Linked DNA regions of Homo sapiens: region 1 is linked to region 2. The links are contacts of gene promoters, found by promoter capture Hi-C in human tissues and cell types (Jung and others, 2019). All regions are on one chromosome and are shown on one strand. The core of a region is centred on a gene start or on the middle of the fragment in contact, and the rest is flanking DNA. Distances in the headings are between cores, read along the strand shown. Region 1 has its middle 88 kb from the start of LINC02367. Region 2 holds the start of CLEC2D (C-type lectin domain family 2 member D).

Evidence for each region. The method cuts DNA at HindIII sites, captures the fragments that hold promoters and counts their contacts. A contact is called where the count stands out against the background at its distance.
Region 1: a contact is called between a fragment that was not itself captured here and the fragment with the promoter of CLEC2D in region 2, in 1 of the 25 tissues and cell types used here (hippocampus).

The regions. Positions count from the first base shown.
Region 1 is chr12:9,452,164-9,459,244 of GRCh38, forward strand. It overlaps the pseudogene OVOS1P. Among named protein-coding and RNA genes, the nearest start is that of LINC02367, 88 kb to the left of the region's middle. The HindIII fragment of the contact is 3,909 bases long and covers 454-4,362 here.
Region 2 is chr12:9,668,463-9,675,041 of GRCh38, forward strand. CLEC2D (C-type lectin domain family 2 member D) reads left to right here and starts at 1,251. Exons shown (of 5, transcript NM_013269.6): 1 at 1,251-1,333. The coding sequence starts at 1,273. RefSeq lists an enhancer at 4,870-5,129. The HindIII fragment of the contact is 24,993 bases long and covers 1-6,579 here.

The DNA of each region.
Region 1 (7,081 bases), core at 1,158-3,657, 220 kb before region 2:
AAGCTTAACAAATGGTAGCTATTACTGATATGAATTGGGTTTGGTTTCAGCGTTCCTCTGCTTTTATTATAAATTTCCTTAGATCCTCTTCTAGAAGGAGAGCATGTAGGAGGTACAAGTTTGTTTTCAACAAGCAATTCTCTCGGGAACTAAGAGTGAGAACTGAGTCACTTCTGCCATAAGGGCAGCAAGCCTTTCATGAGGGATGTACCCCCATGGTCCAAACATTGCCCACCAGACGCCACCTCCAACACTGGAAATCAGATTTCAACATGAGACTTAGGCCAAACAAACCACATCCAAACTGGAACACCTAGGTAGTGGGAAAGGCTCATGAAATGTGCCTGTGCTATAAGAGAAAACATTATTAGAGACTAGATTGTTCTGTCCCCAAAACCCTATATGCCTCACTGTGGAACAGCGCAAGATGCACCCTAATAATATTTACTTCTCTGAACCCCAGTTTCTTGGATTATTATGTCTATCTTGATATGTTACTTTAGCTCATTAAGCCACACCGTAGTGGGGGTGGGACATGTTGTTTCTTCACATAATAGGTTGATGTACTTAGTCAAACTAAATTTTCAGTGGTGTTTGAAAATGGGGGGACTAGAACTGAGGAAGGTGGTAAAAGCTGGATATATGGATTTGATCACCCCTGGGAAACAACAACAACAACAAAAAACATCTAAACTAAAGCTGTGGAGGTAGTAAGATTACTGAAAGGAAAAGTTTCCAAAAAGAAGGAGGTATCCACATATAAAAGAATGAAGTAGGATCCTTGTCTTATACAATATATCCAAATTAACTTAAGATGGATTTTCTAAAGTTAAAATGAAGTTAAAAATTAAAGTTAAAAGCTATAAAACTATAAAACTGGTAGAAGAAAACAGAGGGGAAAAGCTTTATGACATTGCATTTGGCAATGATTCCTTGGCTATGACACCAAAAAGCACAGGCAACAAAAAAATTGATGATGAGTTGAGGGATTTGTAAAATAACATAAAAATAGATGAATTGGACAACAACAAAAGTTACAACTTCTGTGCATTGAAGGACAGGATCAACAGAGTGAAAAGGCAGCCTACAGAATGGGAGCAAGTATTTGTAAATCATCTATCTGATAAGGGGTTAATAACCAGAATATATAAAGAACTTCTGTATCTCAGCAACATGAAAACAATCTGATTAAAAAAATGGGCAAAATACTTAAATAGATATTTCTCCAAAAAAAGATGTGCAAATGGCCCACAGGCACATGAAAAGATGCTCGACATCCCAGTCACTGGGAAAATGCAACTCAAAGCCACGATGAGGTACCACTGCAATCCACTGGGATGGCTACTATTGCACACACACACACACACACACACACACACACACACAGCCAGGCACAGTGGCTTATACTTGCAATTCCAGCACTTTGGGAAGCTGAAGCGAGAGGATAACTTGAGGGCAGGTGTTCAAGACCATCCTGTGTAACATAGTGAGACCAGATCTCTGCAAAAAATTTAAAAAAATATTAGGGGGTAATCGTGGCACACACCTGTAGTCCCAGCTACCCAAGAGGCTGAGGTAGGAGGATTGTGTGAGCCCAGGAGTTCAAGGCTGTAGTGAGCTATAATTGCACCACTGCACTCCAGCCTGGGTGACAGAGCAAGACCCTGTCTCAAAAAAAAAGAAGAAAGAAAAAACCTCAACCCAAAAGGAGCAAAACAAAAAATAAATGATGGCAAGGATATAGAGAAATTAGAAATTTGTACATGGCTGGTGGGAATGTAAAATGGTGTAGCCGCTATGGAAAAAAATTAAAAATAGAATTACCATATGATCCAACAATTTCACATCTGGGTTTGTAAACAACAGAAGTAAAAGCAGTGTCTTGAAGACATTTTTGCACACCTGTGTTTATAACAGCATTATTCGCAACAGCCAAAAGGTAGAAGCAACCCAAGTGTCTATTGACAGATGAGTGGATAAAGTGTGGTATATACATACAATGGAATATGATTCAGTCTTGGAAGGAAGTTCTGACACATGCTATGACATGGATGAGCCCTGAGGCTATTATTTGTATTAGGGTTCTCCAGAGAAACAACCAGCAGGGTGTGTGTGTGTGTGTGTGGGTGTGTGTGTGTGTGTCTATCTACACAGCGAAAAAGAAGCTTAAAGAATTAGCTCATGCAGTTGTAGAGGACTGGTGAGTGAAAATCTGATTGTATTGACTGGCAGGCTGGAGACCTAGGGAAGAGTTATGGTTCAAGGCCAAAGGCAGTCTGCTGGCACAACTCCTTGTTCAGGGGAAGTCAGTCTTTGCTCTAGTAAGGTCTTCACCTAATTGAATGAGGTCCACCCACATTATGGAGGGTAATCTGCTTTACTTAGAGTCCATTGATTTAATTGTTAATCTCATCCAAAAAACACCTTCACAGAAACACCCAGAATAATGTTGGCCAAATGTATGGGTACGGTGGCTCAGCCAAGTTGACACATAAAATTAACCATCACATTATACTCAGTGAAAAAGCCAGTCAAAAGACAAATACTGTATTATTCTACTTACATGAGGTTGCTAGAGTAGTCAGATTCATAGAGACAGAAAGTAGAAGAGTGATTGTCAGGGGCTGGGGGAAGGGCAAATAGGGAGTTGTTTTACGGGTGTAAGAATTTCAGTTTTGCAAGAGGAAAAGTTCTGGAGACTGGTCGCACAACAATGCGAGTATGTCCAACATGAATGAAGTGTACATTTGAACAGGGTTAAGGTACATTTTATTATGTATATTTTCTTAAAAGTTTTTGAAAAAAAATGAGGAAGAGAGAATGACCTTTAAGAAATGTCCACATTTGAAGATGGGAAAGGAAGATGAGAGAATGATGAATCAGTGAAATAGAAGGCAGTTTACAGCTATCTGAGCCAAAGGACAAAATGATCAACACTGAAATATAGTACAGTCAAGGTGAACACTAATTAGAAAAAAGTCTCCTGGGTGTGATCATTCAAAGGGCAACTGCACTGAGTTGAGTGTTAATACATTAGTTTGAACAAAACCACTTTGCACGGTGAAGATGACTCTAGGTGATGTGGTTAAAGGAGGAAACCTGGAGGGGCGGAGAGAAACAGGAGAGGAATGGACTTGAGGGTGGAAGGAAAGGAGACCATGCAAAGGAAGACCCTGGAGATACAGATAAAGTGAGAGGGCCACTTTTGCCTCTGCCTTTGACATTTCCTCCTGCCGGGTAGCCTGACTTGGTCAAGATTCTAAAAGTTACGAGATAAGGGGCCCCATAAATCAGACTAAGCTGGGGCAGCTGCCCTAAGAATGTGCAGCTAGGGACTGGTGGCAAGAAACAGACCATGGCAGGTTTGGAGAGATCCTCAAGGAGTCCAAGCCTGAAGTAAATTGCAGTGGAAACCAAAATGTCAAAGACAAAGTACAAAGCTAGGCTGAAGGCCAAGTGGACAAATGCCAATGCACAGTCACGGGCTGCATAACGATATTTCAGCCAACAACAGACTGCATACAGGAAGGTGGTTCCATAGATTATAACAGAGCTGAGCAATTTCTGTGACCTAGTGGCATAGTAACTATCATAACATGGTAGCACAACGCATGACTCACATGTTTGTGGTGGTCCTTGTATAAGCAAACCTGAGTTGCCAGTGTATAAGAGTATAGCTTGGAGAGTTACATACGGTACACAATACTTGATAATGATCATAAATGACTGTTACTGGTTTATGTGTTTACAATACTTTTATTATTATTTTAGAGTGTACTCTTTCTAGTTTTGTTTTGTTTTTGAGACAGAGTCTTGCTCTGTTGCCCAGGCTGGACTGCAGCAGCATAATCATAGCTCACTAAAGTGTTGAACTGGGCTCACGCCATCCTCTCACTTCAGTCCCCCAAGTAGCTGGACAACAGATGCACACTATCACACCCAACTAATTTTTTTTATCTTTACTTTTTGTAGAGACAGGTTCTTGCTCTGTTGTCTAAACTGATCTTGAACTCCTGGCTATATGTGATCCTTCTACCTTGTCCTCCCAAAGTACGGGGATTACAGGTGTGAGCCACCATGCCCGGCCTCTGCTTTCCAAAAACGAAGCTGACTGAAAAGCAGATTCAGCCAAGATCCTTCAGGAAATATCCCAGAAGGAAGCATTGTTATCATAAGACGCGGCAGCTTCATACGTGTTACTGCCCCTGAAGACCTTCCAGTGGGACAACACGTGGAAGACAGTGATATTGATGATCCTGACCCTGTTTAGGCCTGAGCTAATGTGTGTGTTTGTGTCTTAATTTTTAACAGAAAAGTTTAAAAACTAAAAAAAATTTTTTTTAAATAGAAAAAAGCTTATAAAGAAAAGCTTTACAGTTGTGTTTTAAACTAAGCGTTATTACAAGAGTCAAAAAGTTTAAAAAATTAAAAGGTTTATAAAGTGAAAGAGATACAGAAACCTAAGGTTAATTTACTGAAGAAAGAACAATATTTTAACAAATTTAGTGTAGCCTAAGTGTCCACTGTTTATAAAGTCCACAACAGTGTGCAGTAATGTCCTAGGCTTTCACCTGCATGCAACACACACTCCCTGACTCACCCAGAGCAACTTCCAGTCCTGCAAGCTCCATTCATAGTAAGTGCCTGTGTGTGGAAAAACCACCTCCAATGTGTTTTTCTTCTGCTCTCACACCACAGCAACCATCAACATGGAAGACTTCTATGACCACATACAGGGGAATTTCTCCCCACACACCAAGCAAGCAAGCAGTTCTGGAGGGGACACCAGCTAGGTGTCCTCCAGTTCAATTGTGACACCGCCTACCTGGAGATAGCATCAGATCCCACAGGTTGTAGGCTCAGTCTCCCAAGACTGTCCCCTCCTTCCCAAGATAGCAAGTCCAGGTCTCTAGAACATCTGACCCACCAGCTTCAAGTTGGGGTTCCTATGACCTCTTCTTTGTGTTTGATTAATTTGCTAGAGTGCTCACACAACTCAGGGAAACACTTATGTTTACTGGTTTATTACAAAGGGTATTTTACATGATACAAATAAACAGCCAGTTGAAGAGATACATAGGGTGAGTCTGGAGGGGTCCCTAACCCAGGAGCTTCTGTGGAGTTGGGGTGTGCCACCCTCCTGGCATAGGGAAGAGTTTTGTCAGCCTCCACGTGTTCAGCTTTCCAGAAGCTCCCTGAGCCCTGTCCTCTTGAGCCTTCAATGGAGACATCATTGGGTAGACATGATTGACAACCATGTACAAATACAACTGGACCAGAAGGGATGATCTAACACTAGTTGTATGAGATAGGATAACCCACCAAGGCTTATCCAGATTCTTCTTGGCCTCTCTGTGCAGCATTCTCACCTCCTAAGGATGGGCAGGACCCTCTCTGGAATGAGGATCTTATAATGTGCAGAGTCCTGCCTTGGGCAGGTGAAAGGAGGGCAGGAGAAAGTCAGAGACAGAGAGTCTGTTTTCTGAGCCTAAAGTGTCCCAGCACTGTAACAAGACTATAATGAGGGCCATAGAAGTTATGAGCCAGGAACCCTGGGCAAAGACATGTAAATACTATAATGCTATAGTGCCCTTTAGAGGCATACCACTTTTATCTTTCAAACCATATGTTTACTGTACCTTTTCTTTGTTGAGACATTTGGAGACACAGATACCATCATGTTGAAGTTGCCCACAGTATTCAGTATAGTCATGTGCTGCACAGGTCTGTAGCTTAGGAAATGTAAACTAAAGAAAAATGACCAAGGTGAGTCCTGATCATTTTAGGTTTATTTGCTGAGGTTGAGGACATGCCCAGGAAAGAACGTAGATCCACAGGAAACATTGTGTTTCATGCTTTTTCCAAAGAGGGTCTTGGGATCCCAATATTTAAAGGGAAAAGGCCAGGTATTGAAAGAAGAAGATACATTTTTAAAAGGGTATGGGTAGATACGAGGCAAGCAGTTGCATTCTTTTTGAGTCTTTGATTAGCCTTCACATGTAAGAGGGTAGGGGAACAGTCACTTAAACATTCATCTAGTTCAATGAATCTGCATTTTTACATAAGATAAACAGGCAGGGGGAGCAATCAGATATGCATTTGTCTCAGGTGAGAAGAGGGATGACTTATGTGTCTTGTTCCATGCCTGTGAAGATAAGCCATCAATTTACATGGTCAGGGTGAAATTCAACGTAACTATCTTAGGGTAAATATCTTGGGGGCCCATAAAGAATTTCCTTAGTTTTTCTTTAATGTTATTGAATGACTGTTGGCATTCCACTGTCTAATATAAAGGTTCCGACTCTGACATTTTAAATGCCTCAGATAAGTGCTTTACTAGGAGACCAAAATTAGGGATCAAAGGTGACAAAAGCCAACTATACCTAAGACTCCTTTTAGTTATCTGATTTTTGAGAGCCTTGATAGTGGCTATTGCTTGTTACCTGTCAGGCATCAGACTCTGCCTACCTTATTGCAGGCAAACCCCTGAATAGACTACCTGCTCTTTGCATATTTGCAAAGAGATACTTTATGATCCAATTCCACCAGGCTGTTTAAAACTAGTATTGGCCGGGTGCGGTGGCTCACGCCTGTAATCCAGACACTTTGGGAGGCCACAGTTGAAGGATCGCTTAAGCATAAAAGTTCAAGGCCAGCCTGGACAACACTGTGAGACTCCATCTCTACAACAAATACATTTTAAAAATTAGCCATGTGCAGTGGCACACATATGCAGTCCCAGCTACTTGGGAGGCTAAGGTGGGAAGCTCGCTTGAGCCTAGGAGGGCAAGGCTGCAGTGACCCATGATCACACCACTGCACTCTAGCATGGGTGGCAGAGTGAGACCTTGTTTCAAAACAATCAAACAAAAACTGGTATAAACAGTCTTCATAAGTGGGGCTAGCAATGAGTAAATTACCCATGCATTGTAATAGTATTCCCCTGTTTAATTGCAAGCTTCTCAAATCTTTTAGTAAGATTTTTTTCAAAAATGGTAAAGGAATACTTAAATATTTGGGCAGTACAGTCTAGCAGTTTTGGAAGTTTGCCCTAGTCTCCAGATCTTGCCATTCAAGTGCA
Region 2 (6,579 bases), core at 1-2,500:
TCTCAAGCAATTTTCAAATTATTAAATTTCACAGGAAAGGAGGTTAGGAAGAACTATGTGAAAAACAGACTTGAACTTTTGGCAATCACATGTTGTTCAGGAGACAAAACCAAATTCAACTTCCAAGAAAGAGAAGCAGCTTTGATAAAAAGCAGGTTCTCAGATGGAATTACTAGAAGGCTTTATCATAGGTCCTAGGACAAACTAGAAATGATGAAATAGTAAAGAAAAAGATATATAAAATCTTACAGAAACTGGAACTCAGTCCTAATGCAACTTCATTTCTATTTGATAAAGGCAATAGCTGTCCAATCTGGAACTTATTTCTTACAGGTAAGGGGGGCTACTGTATAGAATTCAAAAGCAGGGAAAATATGTTGTCAGAGTTAAGATAGAGATTGTATTTGGGGTAATGAGCGTTGCAGGACATGAGTAGGGCACATAGCGTGTTGGTATTGTTTTACGTGGTTTTAAGATATACTTCATCTAGGCACTTGTTACATGTTATATTTTTAATGAATGTGTTTAGTTGTATGCTTATGATTTGTGCACATTACTATAAATTATATTTTAGTAAAAGGTGCCCTTACTGGCATTTATATACAAGAAATCAACACATCTGACAAGAAGCTCTTGCTGCTAAAGAGCCTCTGTGCTCCTGGATCATGCCAGAGGGAGCACAGAAGCTGCACACCGTTCAAGCCCATTTTTGAAAAGTTGTTGTAGCAGCCATAGCAGCAAATTCCCAAAATATCTTGAAGAAATTGAAAACAAGATATTTTTTGAATGAGCGTAAACTCTTGGGAATGAATTTTAATTTGAGATTAAAATTGCTGTTGTCTTTACTTACCTAACATTCATTTCCTCTGAGAGCCAACTCCTTCCTTTCAATAAATTCTTATTTTCTATCATAATATTGCTTTGTACCGCACAAAATACAATTATAATTTTTAATAGTCAAAGAAATTTTAAGTTATCAAACATTAGTTTCTTTCGTAACCAAAATACTGTTAGAGAAGTAGCTTCAACTTTTTAAAATTCTTACAAACACCAGTTTATTCTGTTGTGATGAGCTGATTTTTGAAACAATTTATGCTTCATTTGTTCCTCTAGCTATATTTAACTTAAAGGCTTGACATTTTGAGTTACTGGGGCGGTTACACACTTACACGTTTTAGTCGTTGGGCTTTTTTTTTGTTTTGTTTTGAATCATTCTTGGGGTTGAAAACGTAGAGACTGTGGTTTAGATCACTCATAGAAACTGGAGGCAAAATGCATGACAGTAACAATGTGGAGAAAGACATTACACCATCTGAATTGCCTGCAAACCCAGGTAAGAAGCTGGGCTCTACAGAGTAAGTGTGAGGACTGGAATGGGAAGGTAGTGGTAGTGATGGGCTCACACAGGAAAGGTGCTGATCTAGTAAAAAGTTTTCAAGGATAAGAGATGGAATGTGGGAGTCCATAAATTGGCTTATAATTTGTGTAAAACATGCATATATTTATATTCCCAGTTCTAACAACTAAGGAGAGGGAACAATGAGAGAAAGATGTAAGACAATGAGATAAGGTTAAGTTTAGGATTGAAAATAACAGTTAATTTCACTAAAAAAAAATCTATACAAACTCTAAAGTGTTACTCAGATACAAGATACCATCATTATTACATAGGTAGAAAACCTATCATGGAAGCTCTTAAGAGAGAAAAGGTAGAAAATAGTATGTAAAGGACATTTACAAATCAAAAAAGTAACAAAGGTTGAGTAGAAACTTAGTAGGGCATTCTAATGGAATTATGTTACATTGGATGCACTGGAAATATATATATATATAGCTTTATATGATGCTTTAGTAAGTGAAAAAAATGACTTTTGCCACAGTTAGGGAATATCAAGGTTTTATAACTTAGGACTTAAAAGTTTGGAGTTTTCTCCTCCCAACTTAAAAGGTAATCAATTTGGAGAAAAGGTAATTCAGAGGCAGAAAAAGATGAACTCTAAATGTTGTTAAATGACTTCATTTATTTCTTCATTCATTGGGTATTTTGAGCATTTTATACCAAATGCTTTAAACTGTTTGTCGGATAGTTCCAACATCTCTGTCATGTCCTCCTTGGCTTGTGTTTTCTTTCCCCATGGAAGTTGACATTTTCGTGGTTCTTCATATACTGTGTAATTTTGGATTGTAATTTGAACATTTTGAACAAATATTTAGTTAGACTGGATCTTATTTAAATTTTGGAGTATATTGATACTATTGTTTTAGCAAGCAATCACCCTGGTGAGATGAAGACAATCTGTGGGATCTGGTTCCAATGTCAGTTCCATTCTGAAAGCCTTTGTAGTGCTATTCAGACATGTGCATCAACCAGGGGTGAAATTGGGAACTGTGCAATGCTCTACTCATTAGTTCAGGTCTTAGCATCTTTAGTGTGCCAATTAGAACCATATCTAGGCATGCATAAGTTGAGGGGCAGGTGAATCCAGGAGTTTATGAATAATGTTCATGGGTCTCTTTCTAAAGTTTCTTCCTCTTCACCATCTGACCCGTACTTTCAGGTTCCCAGGGGCTTCTCCTTTCCATCCTCCAGCTAGAAATGCGGGCCTCCTTTTATTCTGATGAACCATATACTTCTGCAATTATAGCTGCATCTTTAAGCTCATGTGGCAGACGGACAGTGAGAAAGAAGAAAAAAAAAGCAAGAGGTTTGGCCCCACTCTCATGGAGCTACAGCTCAACTGAATGGAAAGGATTGACTTTAGATTTCTTTTCTTTTTTTGAGGTGGAGTCTCACTCTGTCCCCCAGGCTGGAGTGCAGTGGCGCGATCTCGGCTCACTGCAAGCCCCGCCTCCTGGGTTCACGCCATTCTGCCTCAGCCTCCTGAGTAGCTGGGACTACAGGCGCCCGCCACCACGCCCGGCTACTTTTTTGTATTTTTAGTAGAGACGGGGTTTCACCGTGTTAGCCAGGATGGTCTCGATCTCCTGACTTTGTGATCCGCCCGCCTCGGCCTCCCAAACTGCTGGGATTACAGGCGTGAGCCACCGCGCCCGGCCGAGGATTAACCTTTCTCAAGGTTTTGGCTATTGCATGTTGCTGTAGTTTCCCCTACCATCATCAGATTGCCTGAGGTTTGAGGCACATGAGAATGTAGACAAGAGGGGGAGAAAAAATAAACGTGGTATTTTCACACTCTATTTGAGATAGGAGTTTGCTTTTCTGTTCCTCAGACCATACCTCTAGTGCTTCTCCTGGAGCCCTCTCTTTATGCTGACAGAGGCTCAATTCCATGTTTCTGGCTGTATTAAGTTCGGGGCAGTGATACTAGAGGAGGGAAATTTAAATTCACCACTGGTTTGATGGCTCTTTAAATTTGGATATTCTTGTAAGATCTGCTGCTAGTATATCCTTTTTCCTTTTGCTCTTTTTTGTTTTGTTTAAAGACCATATTTTTAGAGCCATTTTGGGATCACAGCAAAATTGTGAGAAAGGTAGTTTTTTTTTTCATTTTCTCCTTGTTGCCACACATATATAGACTCTGTCTTAGTCTGTTTTGTGCTGCTATTACAGAATACCCAAGACTGGGTAATTTATAATGAACAAAATCTATTGGCTCATAGTTCTGGAGGCTGGAAAGTTCAAGACTGAGAAACACATCTTGCTCCATCATCCCATGGCAAAATTTGGAAGGGCAAGAGAGCACATGCATAAGAAAGAGAGAGAGCAAGAGGCACCAAACTTGCTTTTATAACAAATCCACTTTCGTGATAGTAAACCCACTCCCATTATAAGGACATTATGACCTGATTACCTCTTAAAGGACCTGCCTCTCAACACTATTGCATTGGGGATTAAGTATCTAACACATGAACTTTGGAGACACATTCAAACCATAGCAGTCTCTAACATCAACATTCTTCACCAGCAGTACATTTATTACAATTAATAACCTACATTGGCATATTGTAGCACTCAAAATTCATAATCTGATGGACTTCCCTTTGTCAGTGACCTGACCTTTCTCCCTGGCTGCCCTTAATATTTTTTCTTCCATTTCGACCTTGGAGTATGTGTCTTGGGGTTGATCTACTCATGAAGTATCTTATTGGGGTTCTCTGGATTTCCTGAATTTGAATATTGGCCTGTCTTGCTAGGTTGGGGAAGTTCTCCTGGATTATATCCTGAAGTGTGTTTTCCAACTTGGTTCCATCCTCCCTGTCTCTTTCAGGTACTCCAGTCAGTGGTAGGTTCGGTCTTTTTACATAGTCCCATAGTTCTTGGAAGTTTTGTTCATTTCTTTTCATTCTTTTTTCTCTAATCTTGTCTGTCTGCCTTATTTCAGCAAGAGAGTCTTCAAGCTCTGATATTTTCTCTTCTGCTTGGTCAATTCAGCTATTGATACTTGTGTTTGCAACATGATGTTCTCGTGCTGTGTTTTTCAGCTCCATCAGGTCATTTATGTTCCTCTCTGAACTGGTTATTCTGGTTAACAGCTCCTGTAATCTTTTATCATGCTTCTTAGCTTCTTTGCATTGGGTTAGAACATAATGCTTTAGCTCAGCGAAATTCGTTATTACCAACTTTCTGAAGCCTACTTCTGTCAGTTTATCCATCTCAGCTTCAGCCTTGTTCTGTGCCCTCACAGGAGAACTGTTGCGATCATTTGGAGGAGAAGAGGCACTCTGGCTTTTGGAATTTTCACCGTTTTTTCATTGTTTTTTCCTCATCTTCGTGGATTTATCCACCTTTGATCTTTGAGACTGATGACCTTTGAATGGGGTTTTTGTGGAGTCTTTTTTGTAGATGTTGTTGTTGTTACTTTCTGTTTGTTTGTTTATCTTCTAACAGTCAGCCTTTCTGAGGCAAGTCTGCTGCAGTTTGCTGGGGATCCACTCCAGACCCTGTTCACGTGGGTATCACCAGTGGAGGCTGCAGAACAGCAGATTGCTGCCTGCTTCTTCCTTCAGAAGTTTTGCCCCAGAGGGGCACTGGCCTGATGCCAGCCGGAACTCTTCTGTATGAGGTGTCTGGTGACCCTTGTTGGGAAGTCTCACCCAGTCAGGAGGCATGGGATCAAGGACCCGCTTATGTAGAGAATCTGACATTCCCTTAGCAGAGCTGGTGTGCTGTGCTGGGGGAATCCCACTCATCGGGTTCATCTGGTCTCTTCAGAGCCAGCAGGCAGAAAAGATAAGTCTGCTGAACCTGAAACTGCCTCTCCCCTCAGGTTCTCTGACTCAGCGAGATGAGAGTTCTGTCTGTAAGCCCCTGACCAGAGCTGCTGGAATTCTTGCAGGGATGACCTGCCTGGTGAGGAGGGATGGCTCAGGGTCCCACCTAAAGAGGCAGTCTGGCCACAACCTGCCACAGCCAGTTTGCTGCACTGTGGGAAATCTGGCCCAGTCCAAACCTCTCAGGCTCCTTTGCACTGTCAGGGGCAAACCGCCAACTAATGGTGGTCACCCCTCCCCCCAGGAACTTAGTCATTCCAGGCACACTCCAGACTACTCTGCTGGCAGCAGGGATCTCAAGCCAGTGGGTCTTAGCTTGCAGGGATCCATGGGAGTAGAACCTACTGATTGAGACTGCTGGGCTCTCCTCCTTGGCTTCAGCCCCCTTTCCATGGGACTGGATGGTTCTCGTGCCTCACTGGAGTTCCAGGCACCACTGGAGTATGTAAAAACTCCTGCAGCTCAGTGCCTGCCTAAACAGCCACCAATGGGAGTGGCTGTCATTGGTTTGCCCAGGTTTGTGCTTGAGACCCAGGGCCCTGGTGGTGTAGGCTCATGAGGGAATCTTCTGATCTGCAGATTGCAAAAATCTGTGGGAGAAGCATAGTACACCTGGTGGGTAGGACAGACCCTCGCCACTTCCCTTACCTCAGGGAGGCAAGTCTCCCCACCCTGTGCAGCTCCTGGGTGAAATGACACCCCACCTGCTTTCTTCCTGCTTCCTGTGGGTTGCACCAGCTGCCCAATGAGATGAACTTGGTACCTCAGATGGAGATGCAGAATTCACCTGCCTTCCGCATTCATCTCACTGGGAGCTTCAGACCAGAGCTGTTTCTGTTTGGCCATTTTGGCCCCTCCCTTCAAGTATGTTTTCTTTTGTAAGAAACTGCCAAAGTGGCTGTAGCATTTCGCTTTCTTACCAGTAATGCATGAGACTTCTGGTTGCTCCACATCCTTGCTAGTATTTGATATTGTTAATGTTTTAATGTAACACTTAAGTAATATGTAATGATATCTCATTATTTTAACTTGCAATTCTCAAAAGACATATGATATTAATAATTTGTCTTTTCATTATTTTGATTATGTCTTTTGCAGGTTGAAAGTTTTTAGTTTTAATGAAGTCCAGTTTATCAGTTCTTTCTTTCATGGATTGTGCCTTTGGTATTATATTTAAAAAGTCATCACCATACCCAAAGTTATCTAGGCTTTCTCTTATATTATCTTCTACGAGTTTTACAGTTTTGTGTTTTACCTTTAGGACTATGATACATTTTGAGTCATTTTGGGGAAAAATGTAAAATCTGGGCCTAGATTCATTTATTTGTATGTGGGTGTCTAGTTATT